Regions from separate parts of the Homo sapiens genome. Here regions 2, 3 and 4 are each linked to region 1. The links are contacts of gene promoters, found by promoter capture Hi-C in human tissues and cell types (Jung and others, 2019). All regions are on one chromosome and are shown on one strand. Each heading gives the region's core, a stretch centred on a gene start or on the middle of the fragment in contact. The rest is flanking DNA. Distances are from core to core; before and after follow the strand shown. Region 1 holds the start of CAMK2B (calcium/calmodulin dependent protein kinase II beta). Region 2 overlaps YKT6 (YKT6 vesicular SNARE protein). Region 3 overlaps NUDCD3 (NudC domain containing 3). Region 4 overlaps NUDCD3 (NudC domain containing 3).

Region 1 (3,179 bases), core at 185-2,684:
CAATGATCAGCGTCCCTCACCCACCACAAGGTTTCACCAGACACTTATTTAGTAAAGGAAAAAAAGGATCTGTTGCTGGATGTGTAAGAGGAAATCTCGCCAGCACCGCCAGCGCCCCCACCGCCTGCACTGAAGGGACGGAGGAGGATGGGGGAGGACGCAGGAGGATGGGGCTCTGGCCCAGTCAGGCTGGAGATTCAGGAGTTCTGAAGCTAGCCCTAGGGATGCCAGGTGCAGCCACCTTGATTCTCAGAACGGGAGACCCCAGGCCAGACAGGAGGCCCCTGAGGCGCTCCCCATCTCACCCCAGGGGCAAAGCCGGGTCCGGGGACCACGAACCAGACCTTCGCCCTACACTGCTCATACTGCCAAGGAGAGAACGGGAGCCACAGCACCTGTTCCCCGTGAGGTCCCACTTCAAACAAACCTTCAAAGCCCCTTCCCCTTTAGGGCGCCCCCGCCAACAGTCCAAAATCCAGCCCCCATCCACCTCGATGACCCTGAAATTTGCAATCCAGTCAGGCTCTTAGTCTCTCCCCGCTATCCCCATGACCTGATCCAGGCTCCCTGACCTCGTCCTCCCCACACCTCCAAATTCCTGTTTCCAGAAGAATCTGGGGGAAAATCCTCCAGAACCCAGATTCCCCAGGGGACCTACAGCAGAGGCTCTCCCACGCCGGCACCCCCAGCGCGGATGGGGCCACGCGCAGGAGCAGGCGCAAGCAGGTCCCGCCACCCCCGCCGCCTGCCGCTCGGGTGGGGGTGGGGACAGCGCACCCGCGTCGGGGACGACCCTCTGGGGCCGCAGCCGACCCCTCCCGGCGCTCCAGGCCCGGGGGCCACCCCCGCGCGCCCCTCCTCTCTGACCTCCCCGCCGCCAAATGCGTCACGTCTGCCGGGCGCTCCGGGGACACCTGCTGCCGCCCCCGCCGCGCCAAGTCGCGAGCCCGGAGCCCCGGCCCGGCAGCCGCGCTGGGCAGAGCTGGGCAGGGCCGCGCGCGCTGAGGTCAGGCAGCCAGGCCCGGGGCCGGGGGCTCGCGGGTCGGGGCCGCGCGGGGCCGTGCGCTTGGGCCCGGAGCCCAGAGAAGCCGGCGGCGCGCGGGCCCGCAGTGCGCCTGGAGCCGGCGGCGCGGAGGGTCCCGGAGGTCCCGGCCCTCTGGGGTCCCCGGCCCAGCCCGCGCGCGCCGCTGCTCTTACTTGCCAATATCCTCGTAGAGCTGGTACTCGTCGGTGAAGCGGGTGCAGGTCACCGTGGTGGCCATGGCGGCGGCGGACGGGCTCGGCGTGCGCTCGGCTGCGCTCGGGCGGCGGCGACTCCGGCTCCCGCTCGCGGGCACGGCGGCGACACGGGCGCGGGCGCGGGAGACACCTCGGCTCGCGGCGCCAGGCGGGGGCCGGGCTGGGCTGCGCCGGGCGGCGAGCGCACGCGAGATCTGCTCGCTCCGTCCTCGCCAGGAGCGCGCCGCACACCTACGCGCGGGGAGGCGCGGGCGCCGCTGTCACCGCCGCCGCCGCCGCGCCCGCCCCGCCCGCCGCCCCCTGCACGCGCCTTCCCCGCGCCCTGCACACGCTGCTCCTGCACCCGCACCCGCAGGGCACCGGCGCCCTGCATCTGCACACGCGCCCTGCACACACACCCTTGCCCCGCACCCGCAACGCACCTGCACCTGCACCTGCACTCACACGCGCGCCCGCCCCCGCCCGCCCCCGCACCCCACACACACACCCGCGCCCTGTACTGACGCCTTCATCCTCTACCCGCACCACGCCCGCACCTCGCGCACGCAGGCCACTTGCTGCTGCCGACCCCTCGCTCTCACATAACACAGAAGAGTGCACATAATGAACGCAGCCTCCTCTCTCTCTCTCGAAGGCCCACCTAGCCTGACAGCAGGAGGGGACTGGGGCCCACATGGAGGTAGAGGGCTCATGTGCTGCCCTCCACAGGACTCATTCCTCACACCCTCAGGAAGAGATGCTGCCAGATCCCTTCTGCCCAGTCTCCATCAGCCACACATGCCCCAAAGGCTGCCTGGCCAGGAGGAACCGCCCAGAAGGCAGTGTACACACTGGGTCACTAGCATGAGAAAGTGAAAGGGTGGGGCCTGCCCCCTCCCCTTGGCCCCAGCCCCTCCCTTCCCCCTCACTTCTCCAAAGACTGGTTGCTGGGTTGTCTGGAATGGAGGTCCCAGGAGGCAACATTCGGAGTCCAGACCAACGGACCCTGAGCCAGGGGAACAGGGGCTGCTCCACCAGCAATTTGGGGGGCCTGAGAGCTCACAGCCACCCTGATCAGGTAAAGGTGCACATTCTCTCCTTTTCCAGCACGGTCCACCTGCCTGCCCCCTGCTTTTGCCTGGAGGAGGAGGGCCCACACACCCCAACCCCCTCCTGAAAGCAGCCAAGGAGGAGGAGAGTGCAGGGAGGCAGGCAGGAGGCAGGGCGACCCGGTTTCCCACAAAACAGCCTTCCCTGAGGCCTGGCACCAGGGCTGCTGTCCAGAACCGGGACTTTAGACCACTGGGCTCCAGCATCCCCACACTCTTCTCTGACGGGGTCCATCCTGGGCAGGCTCTGAGGAGGGGGTTTCCAGCAGCCAGCTCTGGATTTGGGTCACGCTGCTGCCCTGATATGACTTCCTTACTGCTCCCCAAGGACCAATTCTGGGCCTATCCTGCTCATCCCTCTCACCTCGTGGCCAGCCCAGGGCAAGCCCCAGAAGCCACAATAAATGTCATGTGGATAAGGGAGGGGATAAAGGCATTCTGAGTGCTGGCAGCCAGGGCCCTTCTGGGCCAGGATGCATTTGGCATGGGACTGCTGGGCAATTAGTAGACCACACGGCAACAAGTCCCTGCCATCGACCCACCTGCACCCAGAAGACACTAGAGGACGAGAAATTCTCAGGCCAAAGGCAAATGCTGGGCCACCTGGGGAAGTCCCCAGCTGAGGAAGCAGAGGGATCCTGGCCTTGACTTCAGCAGGACCATAGCAGGAAGGGAGACCCCGTCTATGTCAGACTTGGACTCAGAGAATCCTGGGCCATCCTAACAGACAGACTGGCATGGGCTCGAGAAAGGACTGGAGGCCAAGTCTGAGGTTTGTTCTTGGCGTTGTGTTTAACCCCACAGGAGTTTCTTCCAGCACCTGCTGGATGCATCCATATTTTCCCTTTCTGA
Region 2 (3,179 bases), core at 342-2,841, 120 kb before region 1:
GAGTAGTCATTGATCTGCACAACTTAGAACCCTTCAGCAGCTCTCAGATCCGCCCCAGGATAAAGTGCAAACTAACTCACAGTCTCCTGACTGGGCCCTGTTCTCTCTTATACCCTTTCTTGCCCAGCTCACACACAGGCGCCTGAAGGTTGGGCCTTTCTGACCAGATGTCACAGTTTTGTCACTGCTTGTTTACATGTCTCCCTGACCAGCGTATGAGCACTGGGACATCTTTCCATCCTGCTCATGATACAGTGCCTAGTTTATACCATGCTCAGCAGTTGATAGATACCTGGAGTGGATTGAAACCCACATACAAAGCTTTACCATTTACACAGGCATAGCTTTAGTGTGTACATCAGCGTCTCCTGGGGTTGGAGTTGTTGGCCTGCGATGGAGCCTGGGAACCTGCATTTTATAAAAAGCATCCCAGGGGCTTCAAACACAGGTGTGCTGACTGCACTCCAAATAACGTGGCTTTGGAATGAACGATAGATGTGAAAGTCTCATGGTATCTGTGTCTTTTGAAACCTTGTGAGCTTTCTTACCACCTAGGTGGCATTTCTCCGTTTTCTCCTCAAGCCATCTCTTTCTGTTGCTCAAGTCCTAGTCTGAGTACCATGACACCTGGGACACCCGCTGTTTCTCCTCTCCCCACGGTGGGGAGTGGATGAGTCCTATTCACCCAGCCTCATCTAGCTGCAGTTGTAAAATCTAGATGATTGGTGTGCATATCTGAATCAGTTAACTTTCTGTGTTAAAAATTTGAGTCGCTCAGCTGTGTGTAGGGATGAAGGACATTCTTGCTGGCTCCTTGTTCTATGGCGCTTCATGTGTGCATCTAGCTGCTGCAGCAGTGGCCATCTGAGGAGAGAAGCGAGCTGCTGCTTCCTGAGGGCCCTGGCAGCAGAGCTGCTGGCTCTTGTGAGGTCTCCATCTCTAGACCCCTTCCCATGGGGTCAGTGTTTTCATTTCCTAAGTCAGAGTTTGTAGTGATGACATTTAGGACATAGCCCATTTAGAAGGCAGGACATGTTCTGTCATAGTGCTGTCTGGTATATATTTGGGGCATGTGTGTAACTTAGAATTTTCTAGGAGCCATATTTTAAAATGATAAAAGGAAAATAGGTAGAATTTAATTTAATTATATATTTTACTTAACGCAGTATATCCAAATACAATTTTTCCAACATGTAATCGGTATAAAACTTGTTTTTTTTTCAGTATAAAACTTACTAATGAAGCATGTGTGAGTTTGCATCTGAAATCTGGTGTGTCTGTACTCAGAGCGCTGCTCAGTTTGGACTTGCCTCACATCAAGTGCTCAATAGCCATTTCCCACCGCCTTTTGTTTCCTGTGGCTGCTGTCAACAGAAACCCTCAAATATTTGCTTTTAACAGATAGCTCTGTGGGCCTGGCTGGTGTCTTTTGGGGCTCTGAGTGTCTGTCCCAGGCCTCTCTCCAGCCTCTGGTGGCTGCTGGCCATCCTTGGCATTCCTTGGATTAGAGGTGCATCACTTCAGGCTCTGCCTCTGCCGTCACGTGACCTTCTGTGTGTGTGTTTCCGTTTCTTACCAGGACATCAGTCATGGAATTAGATGCCACCCTAATCCAGTATTACCTCTTCCTAACTAGTTACATCTGCCAAGACCCTATTTCTAAATATGGTCACATTCAGAGATTCTGGGGATGTTAATTTCTGGGATGCGGTTGGGGTTGGGGGGTGCGGTGTGGGTCACTCTCCAACCCAGTACAATCATATAGTGCCCAGCTACTCTTTTTTCCAAAGCTCCATGCACACGCACATGTGCGTGCACACACACACACACACACAAATGTATATATAAATGTGTGTGTATATATATATATGAGTTTTCCTGGAGTGCTGGTTATCTAAGCCTGTGCTGGGGACAGCTTTTTGGGAAGTCTGCTACATCCCAGTTAGATCTTCTAGATTTCACGGGAATGTCACCAGGTTCTGTTCCATCCACTTGGACAGTAACTATTCTTGGACCGAGTCTCGACACCTAGAGGTGAAGTTTGTGTGTGTTGGAGAGGAACCCAGGTAAGGCACTTTCCCCCATGACTGAAATATGAGGGGCTCATGTCAGGGCACGTACTGAACAGAGCTGGATTCTCTTTTCTTTTTTGTCCAGCACAACACCATGGAGTCTCTGTTAGAGCGAGGTGAGAAGCTAGATGACTTGGTGTCCAAATCCGAGGTGCTGGGAACACAGTCTAAAGCCTTCTATAAAACTGTGAGTACCCAGCACCTGCTGCCTCCTGGGTGTTCTCTCTAGAGAGCAGTCGCAGCTTGCTGCTTCTGGCACTCTCCACTATGAACGGGTCTTTCTTAGACTGTTGAATCATGGTGGATGATTCCTTGTGCGGCAAGAGCCTAAGGTGAGCGCCTCAGGCCCAGGTGGTTGGAGGCAGTTCACTTGGGCGCCGTTGGAGTCGATGCGGGCCGAGGCCTTGTTCCACTCCTGCCTCTGCTCTGCCCTCTGCTGCTCTGGCTGATTTCTGAACTCCTACTCCCAGTCCAGGAAGGCTGGTTCAAGTTCTGATCACCAGAGATTTACTGTTGAATCTTATTCCTCTTTCTGCTGAGTAGACATAAGTCTTTAAGATGCAAGCAATTCAGCCTTCCTGAAGAGGTTCTTAAGCTTTTAATTTCCCTTTGACAGAAAATATTTAATTGACAAGGATGGGTGCTGCTGACTGCCGCTTTCTCTCAGGTCAGTGCTCATGTCTTCCTATGTGGAGATGGCACTGTTGGCCCATGGTTGGATAGTCATAGGGACAAATTTACTTGGTCTGTCCACACACATTTGCTTTCATGTGCACATTGGAGGGAGATGGCTAGGTGGGATTAGGAAGATAGTCTGTGACCAGAAAGCAAGAGAGAAGGTGGCAACAGTGGTCCCCACAAACCACATCCCAAGTGGGAACCACATCTGTTGTCCTCAGGACCATCTTCTAGGAAGAAACACCACCGTGGTGGTCAGATAGCATTGTGTGAAGACAGGAGTGGGGCAAAGTTAAGATATTCTGCCAATCCCATTTGTATTATTGGTCCTTTGTTTGTACCTGGCCTAACTGTAGGAATTTTACTCACTTTTTGATAGCATTAATGGGGTGTGAGAAAAGAAAGGAAAAAGGATCCCAGACTAGTTTT
Region 3 (3,179 bases), core at 300-2,799, 110 kb after region 1:
TTGAGCCCAGGCGTTTAAGGTTATAATGAACTATGATTGTACCACTGCACTCCAGCCTAGATGACAGAATGAGACCCTGTCTCTAAAACAAAACAGGATCAGACAATTCTGATTTTCAAAAAGCTAGTGGCAAGTATGTAAAATGAAGAGTAAAAGGAGGTCAAAGACCTAACCTGAAGAGTTTTGTCTAGGAAGCTAGAGCCCCAAACCTATAATAGATTTATAATTCAATGAGACAAGGGCTGACCTCAAGCTCTTCTCCAGAGAGAGAATGCCTATGATAGGCACTGACTGCCTGACTAAAGGCAAGGTTTGGCTCCCCAAGTCACAGCCAGTGATTCCAAAGCGGAGGTGTTTGCACAGAAATGTCAAGCTTGCTGCTCCCCACTTCCCGCCCCCTGGGGCTCAGTGATTGAGGCCCGGTTTGTCAACCCCCTCTCCACCACCCCAAATACAGCTGTTCTTTCATGTCTCTTGCAATCAATCCTGTCTACCCTTTAAATGTTCACACTCTTAACTACATTGCCCTTAACTACATTGCGCAAAAGCCACTACTCTGTGCAAAGATGACAACATCCCTGTCACCCTCATCTCCTTCCATTATCCCAGGTGTAAGAGCTGTCATCACACCTCACCACCTGTTGACCTCACTGTCCCCTCAGGAGAGGTCCCACAACATCTGGGTGCAATGTACATATATGTGCTAGGGTCTGAAATGTTTGTGTTCCCCTAAAACGTGTATCTTGAAATCCTAACCCCGAAGGTGATGGCAGTAGGAGGTAAGGCCTTTAGAAGGTGATTAGGTCATGAGGGTGGAGGCTCTGAGTGGGATTAGTGCCCTTACATGGAGGCCTCAAAGAGCTTCCTCATCCCTTCCACTATGGGAGGACACCACAAGAAAACAGAGGTCCATGAATCAGGAAGCAGGGCCTCCCCAGACACTGAATCTTCTGGTGCCTTGATCTTGGACTTCCAACATCCAGAACTGTGAGAAGTAAATTTCTCACAGAAGCTACCCAGGCTATGCTATTTTGTTATAGTAGCCCAAATGGACTAGGCCAACATGTGTGTGTGTGTGTATAGTACATGTGTGTGGCATGTGTGCAGTGCACTGTGTGGTAAAAGTATGTGTGCACTATATGTGTGTGTGGGGTACGTGTGTGCATACAATGTGTGTGTGCCACATGCATGCGGCTGGTGCATGTGTACCTGCATGTGCATGTGGGCACATGTACTGTGTGTGCAGTTTGTGTGTGTGGTGTATGTGTGTGGTGCACATGTGCATGCAATGTGTGTGTGGTGCATGTGGGCATGCAGTGTGTGTGTGCTATGTGCATGTGTGTGGTATGCATGTATGCACACAGTGTGCATATGCGTGCATAAGGTATAGTATGGGCACGCAGTATATATGTGTGTGATGTACGTGCCATGGGTATGAGGCAACCAGCAGACATGGCTCACTCCCTCCCTTGAAATTCTCACCTGTCTCTTATCAATTTTCTTCTCATCTCACTGACCTGGCACATCCCACACCTGGATGGCAGCCATGGCTGCGTCTCTTCTCAGTTTCTTCACATGCCACTGTGATTACATTATTCTCAACAACCTCATATGGCTCCCCACGGCCCAGGAGACAAGGCCAGGGCCTCAGCAAGGCACTCGAGGTAGCCCATGATTGAGTCGTCATGACTCCTTCCTCCCTTTTTCCTCCTGCTCCCACAAATGAATCCTCCTCCTCATCTGTCAACTCTTCTCTGCCTATGCTCAATCTCAACTCAAGATTTCTTCCACCTGATGGAAATACGGTGAATTTTCTTCTGGGTTTCTTCATTTTCAAAGCTTTACAAAATAAGCATTATTATAAAAATGACCCATCCTTGAGGCCCACTGCCCTGCTTCTGAAGCCTAAAACTCATGGTCTGCCAGGCCCACTTCCTACTTCTCGGTTTTATCTTCCTAGGAGTGTTCACTCCTGAGAGCTCGTCCACTCATGCTGATTTCAGTGCTCAAAAATGACTCGATGCCTGGACCCCAGCCCTGGGCCCCCAGCTGCCAGGTCTGCCCCAACGCCAGCAACCCAGACGTAGCCTGGGCCTTGGTCTTGGCCTCTGCAGCCTTCAACCTTTTCACTTACAAAGGGACAGGCTGGAGCCAGTCACTACTCCCAGGCTTCCACACAGACAAGCACCTCACACTAACCAGCCTTCCTGCAACTCTTGCCAGATTCGTCTGTCTAGAGGGTGGTGCCTCCCTGCCTGCTGCCCAGCTCTCACTGAGGTTCCCCTACCCGCCAGGCTCCTTTCATTGTTGTGGATGCATTATTTCTAAGTTCATGCTTCTTTACTAGCAGGGATGTGACCCCCCCGCCCCGCAATATCAGGCCAACTGTGGATACCCTGCCACCTCAGCCAGACACACAAAAGGTTTGATGCCAATGCAGCAAGCAGCCACCCCAGGCCACGGGCTCTGGTCTCAAGTATGTCCTACAAATCAATGTCTCCAAGCCAGTCCCCTAGCAGTCAAGCAGTTTCCCTGAATGCTCTGTGTGTCCGTGGTGTCCAACCTGAGGTCAAGCCCAGCTTCCCCGCACAGCAACCAGGTAACGGTGACTAGGTCACTCAGCCTCTCTGTGCCTTGGTCTCCTGACCTATAAAATGGGAACACTAATAGCATCTCTCCCAAAAGGTAGCTGTGAGGAACAAACCATTTAAAATGACTAAAACAAGGTCTCGTGACACTCAGTATTGCTTTCTCACTCACTGCTTTCCCTTTAGAAAGTCTTTGGCTATGGAAAGAACTCACTGAGCAGCTTTTATGACTATGGGATGATTCTTGAACCCTCTGAGACATTTGGAGAGAGAAGTTATGTCTTTTGCCTAGTAATTCTACACTTCTTTATTGCCTAATAATTCTACACTTTTTTTAGATTTTTCTAAAAATCTAGTATCAATAATTTTATCAATACCTGATTGTTATCTGTTTAGCATCTACCACACTTTGGTCTTGCAATGACAGTAGCCTGCCTACTTTAAAGACAATGCTAACTCACCAAGAGGAGAGCCAGAGTTCCTGGAGATGTAGCTAGTCCCCAACCTGGGACCAGAACACACACGGTAAGCCTAGCCGTCTTCCTTACAAGTGGGGAACTGTCAAAGACCAGGAGGGTCATGCTGAAAGGA
Region 4 (3,179 bases), core at 171-2,670, 89 kb after region 1:
TAATTAATTGGGCATGGCAGTTCGTGCCTGTGGTCTCAGCTACCTGGGAGGCTGAGACGGGAGAATCAATATAAATCAACTCAAAAGGTTAATAACAAAATGGGAAAACAGATCTGCAATACATATCACCTACAAAGGACTGATCTCTCTAATATATACAGAACTCCTAGAAATCAGTAAGAAAAAGTACAGCAACCTAATAGAAAATGGGCAAAAGATATAACTAGTTCAAAGGATAGGCACATGTAGAAAGATGCTCCACCTCACTCTAAGAGAAATACAAATTCATACTACACATAGATACTATTTTTCATCTATTCAACTTACGAAACCCCAAAATTTGATAACATACTATTGTCAGCAAATTTGTGAAAAACCAAGGGCTCTTGTACATTGTTGATGGATATGTAAGTTAGTATAACCCCATATGGAAGATAGTTTAGCAACACTTACAGAAATTAGAAATACAGGCCGGGTGTGGTGGCTCACGCCTGTAATCCCAGCACTTTGGGAGACCAAGGTAAATGGACTGCTTGTGCCCAGGAGTACAAGACCAGCTTCTTGAGCAACAAAGGAAAACCCCATCTCTACAAAATACAAAAAATCAGCTGGGCATGGTGGTGCACGCTTGTAGTCCCAGCTGCTCAGGAGACTGAGATGGGAAGATTGCTTAAGCCTAGGGAGGACAAGGCTGCAGCGGGCCATGATGGGTAACAGAACAAAACCCTGTCTCAAAAAAAAAAAAGAAAAAAGAAAGAAATTAGAAATACATATACCTTTCAATATAGCAACTACACTTCATGGAATTTTTTCTATATGAAAATGCATATACGCAAAATGAAGTTTATTAAAGGGCATTGTTTTATTGTTTACAACAGGAAAGATTGGAAACAACCTAAATGTCCATTAACAAGAGGGTGGTTTAATAATCAGCCTATAGTTTGAAGGGGGCAAAAGCAAAGAACAGGAGTCCCAGGTGTGAGGGATGGTGGGTTTGGGGCACTTGAGCCAGATGACCAGGGAAAGCAAAGTCTACCTAGAATTTACTGGGCACCCCTCAGGCACTTGGGGACATGGAAGTAAAAAGAGATGGGAGTCACTTTGGTGCGGCCAAAATGACACTGGGCAGGGGCAGTAAGATCATCTTAAAAAGTGGAATGCACCATCTGTGCTAAAGGTGGGGACACAGCAATACATGTTCATACTTGATTATACATGCATAAAAATATTTGTTGAAATATCCCCAAAACCAGTTATGTGATGACTTAGGTTAGGGCTGGCTGGGGAGGGGTCAGGACAAGACAGAAAAGACACAGAGGCAGGACAGGGATTTTTGTGTTGTTATACAAGTTTTTGCTTTTGAACATATAAATGTGTTATGCACTCAAAAATTATGTAAATACAAAAATAATGCAGTCTATTAGTCTTTTCTGTTATGGAAGTTTCCTATAATAAAACGTTTTCCTGCATTTTTTCCTAAGCAACTTCTAAGAACACGTTATGGAGCTTTTAACACAAATTCCAGCACTTACATCAAGCTCACAGGCAAGGCCTCACTACGAATCTAAGCCTGGGGATCAGTTAGAGCCATAAATGACACACCTAGTGGCTAAGGTGGTGTTCCAAAAGGTACCCAAGGTGAGGACAAAGATGGCAGGTCACAACAGTGACTGCACCAGCCTGCAGGACCACTCACAATCTATGAGAGGAAGAAGACTCAAGGGAAACAGATTCACTTGTCACTCAATAACATCCAATCATGACTTCATTTGCAATAAGGCCATAAAACAGGGTGGAGGTGACGGGACCTTGGTTCTGGTCTATGATCTACCATCAACCCACCATGAGAGTTTTCTCATCTGCAAAATGAGAGGTTAAACTAAAAATCTCTGGAGTTTAATTTTCAAAAGCATTCCAATTCTGTGATTCAATGAAATGCCAGGTTTATAATCACCCAGGTCTGACATGAGCAATCACAAAAACATCTGTCATTAACTCAAAGTTCCTTGTCTCTATTCTGTGGGTACACTGAAGAGAGAGAGAGAGGGAGTCAGCTGCTTTTCCTAAACAGAGCAGAGTAGATTGAGCAAAGAACATGTGATGGAAAAGACCTAACCACATTTTACTAATGTATGAAATTAAAAGCTTCATTTTGAGAAGTTTTCTTTCAGATTCACTAGCAAGATGATTTTTTTTAAATGTTACGATGTAAAATAGGAACACTTTCTAGTTTTCTTCTAAAGAACATAAAGCATTATGCATACACTCTTATTTGTCTCCTACTACCCTTGAGAGAGCAAGTGTGAACTCATCATACCCATTCTACAGAAAAGGGATCAATGAGAAACTCCAGGAGAGGCAAAGCTCTGATAATGCCTGCATCAAGCTACAGCTGGAGAGTAGAGGATCTGGCTCTCCTGTGAAGCTCTATCCACAGCCCCAACACAAACACTGGGCTGCCTAAGCAAAGCCCCTGAATCACCAACCCAGAACAGATTCTGATTTTATCAGTTGAGTTGTTGCAGCCGGGGTTACCATCGTGACAATGTCCCATAGGTGCCACAGACAAAAAACAAAAATAAACACTGCTGACAGGCAACCGTGACAGGTAGACTTAGGGAATAACTGGCCAGGCCAGAAAGAAAGTACAGCTCTGAAGAAAAACACTTAGACAAGCAAAATCCAAGAGATACAAAATAAACTTTTTCCAAAGTTTTAAGTGAGGTACGACTAAAAAAAAAATCATTCAGCAATTAAGAGACCAAGAATTTTTATTTTTACTTTATTTTATTTATTTTTTGAGATAGGGTCTTACTCTGTTGCCCAAGGTGGAGTGCAGTGGCACAATCACAGTTCGCAGAAGCCTTGACCTCCTGGGCTCAGGTAATCCTCCCACCTCTGCCTCCCAAGTAGCTAGGACTACAGCAGCGTGCCACCATCCCCAGCTAAATTTTTTTTGTGCTGTTTTGTAGAGATGGGCTTTCACCATGATGCCCAGGCTGGTCTCAAATTCCTGGGCTCAAGCAATCTGCCCACCTCAGCCTCCCAAAGTGCTGGGATTACAGGCTTGAGCCACCATGCCAAGCCAAGAATTTTTAAAAGAGGTCTGCAGTTAGGAAGTCGGAGGTTGCAGTGAGCCAAGATGGCGCCACCGCACTCTAGCCTGGGTGACACAGCGA

The links. The method cuts DNA at HindIII sites, captures the fragments that hold promoters and counts their contacts. A contact is called where the count stands out against the background at its distance.
Region 2: a fragment that was not itself captured here is called in contact with the fragment with the promoter of CAMK2B in region 1 in 2 of the 25 tissues and cell types used here (dorsolateral prefrontal cortex and lymphoblastoid cells).
Region 3: a fragment that was not itself captured here is called in contact with the fragment with the promoter of CAMK2B in region 1 in 3 of the 25 tissues and cell types used here (dorsolateral prefrontal cortex, mesenchymal stem cells and spleen).
Region 4: a contact is called between a fragment that was not itself captured here and the fragment with the promoter of CAMK2B in region 1, in 3 of the 25 tissues and cell types used here (IMR-90 fibroblasts, dorsolateral prefrontal cortex and lymphoblastoid cells).

What each region holds. Positions count from the first base shown.
Region 1 is chr7:44,324,160-44,327,338 of GRCh38, forward strand. It overlaps CAMK2B (calcium/calmodulin dependent protein kinase II beta), which reads right to left and starts at 1,435. Exons shown (of 24, transcript NM_001220.5): 1 at 1,198-1,435. The coding sequence starts at 1,262. The HindIII fragment of the contact is 12,993 bases long and covers 1-3,179 here.
Region 2 is chr7:44,208,866-44,212,044 of GRCh38, forward strand. YKT6 (YKT6 vesicular SNARE protein) reads left to right here. Exons shown (of 7, transcript NM_006555.4): 6 at 2,158-2,259. Among named protein-coding and RNA genes, the nearest start is that of YKT6, 9.5 kb to the left of the region's middle. The HindIII fragment of the contact is 4,219 bases long and covers 1-3,179 here.
Region 3 is chr7:44,432,199-44,435,377 of GRCh38, forward strand. All of the region lies in intron 2 of NUDCD3 (NudC domain containing 3), which reads right to left. Among named protein-coding and RNA genes, the nearest start is that of NUDCD3, 57 kb to the right of the region's middle. The HindIII fragment of the contact is 4,995 bases long and covers 1-3,179 here.
Region 4 is chr7:44,413,302-44,416,480 of GRCh38, forward strand. The region is part of intron 3 of NUDCD3 (NudC domain containing 3); the gene reads right to left. Among named protein-coding and RNA genes, the nearest start is that of NUDCD3, 76 kb to the right of the region's middle. The HindIII fragment of the contact is 4,891 bases long and covers 1-3,179 here.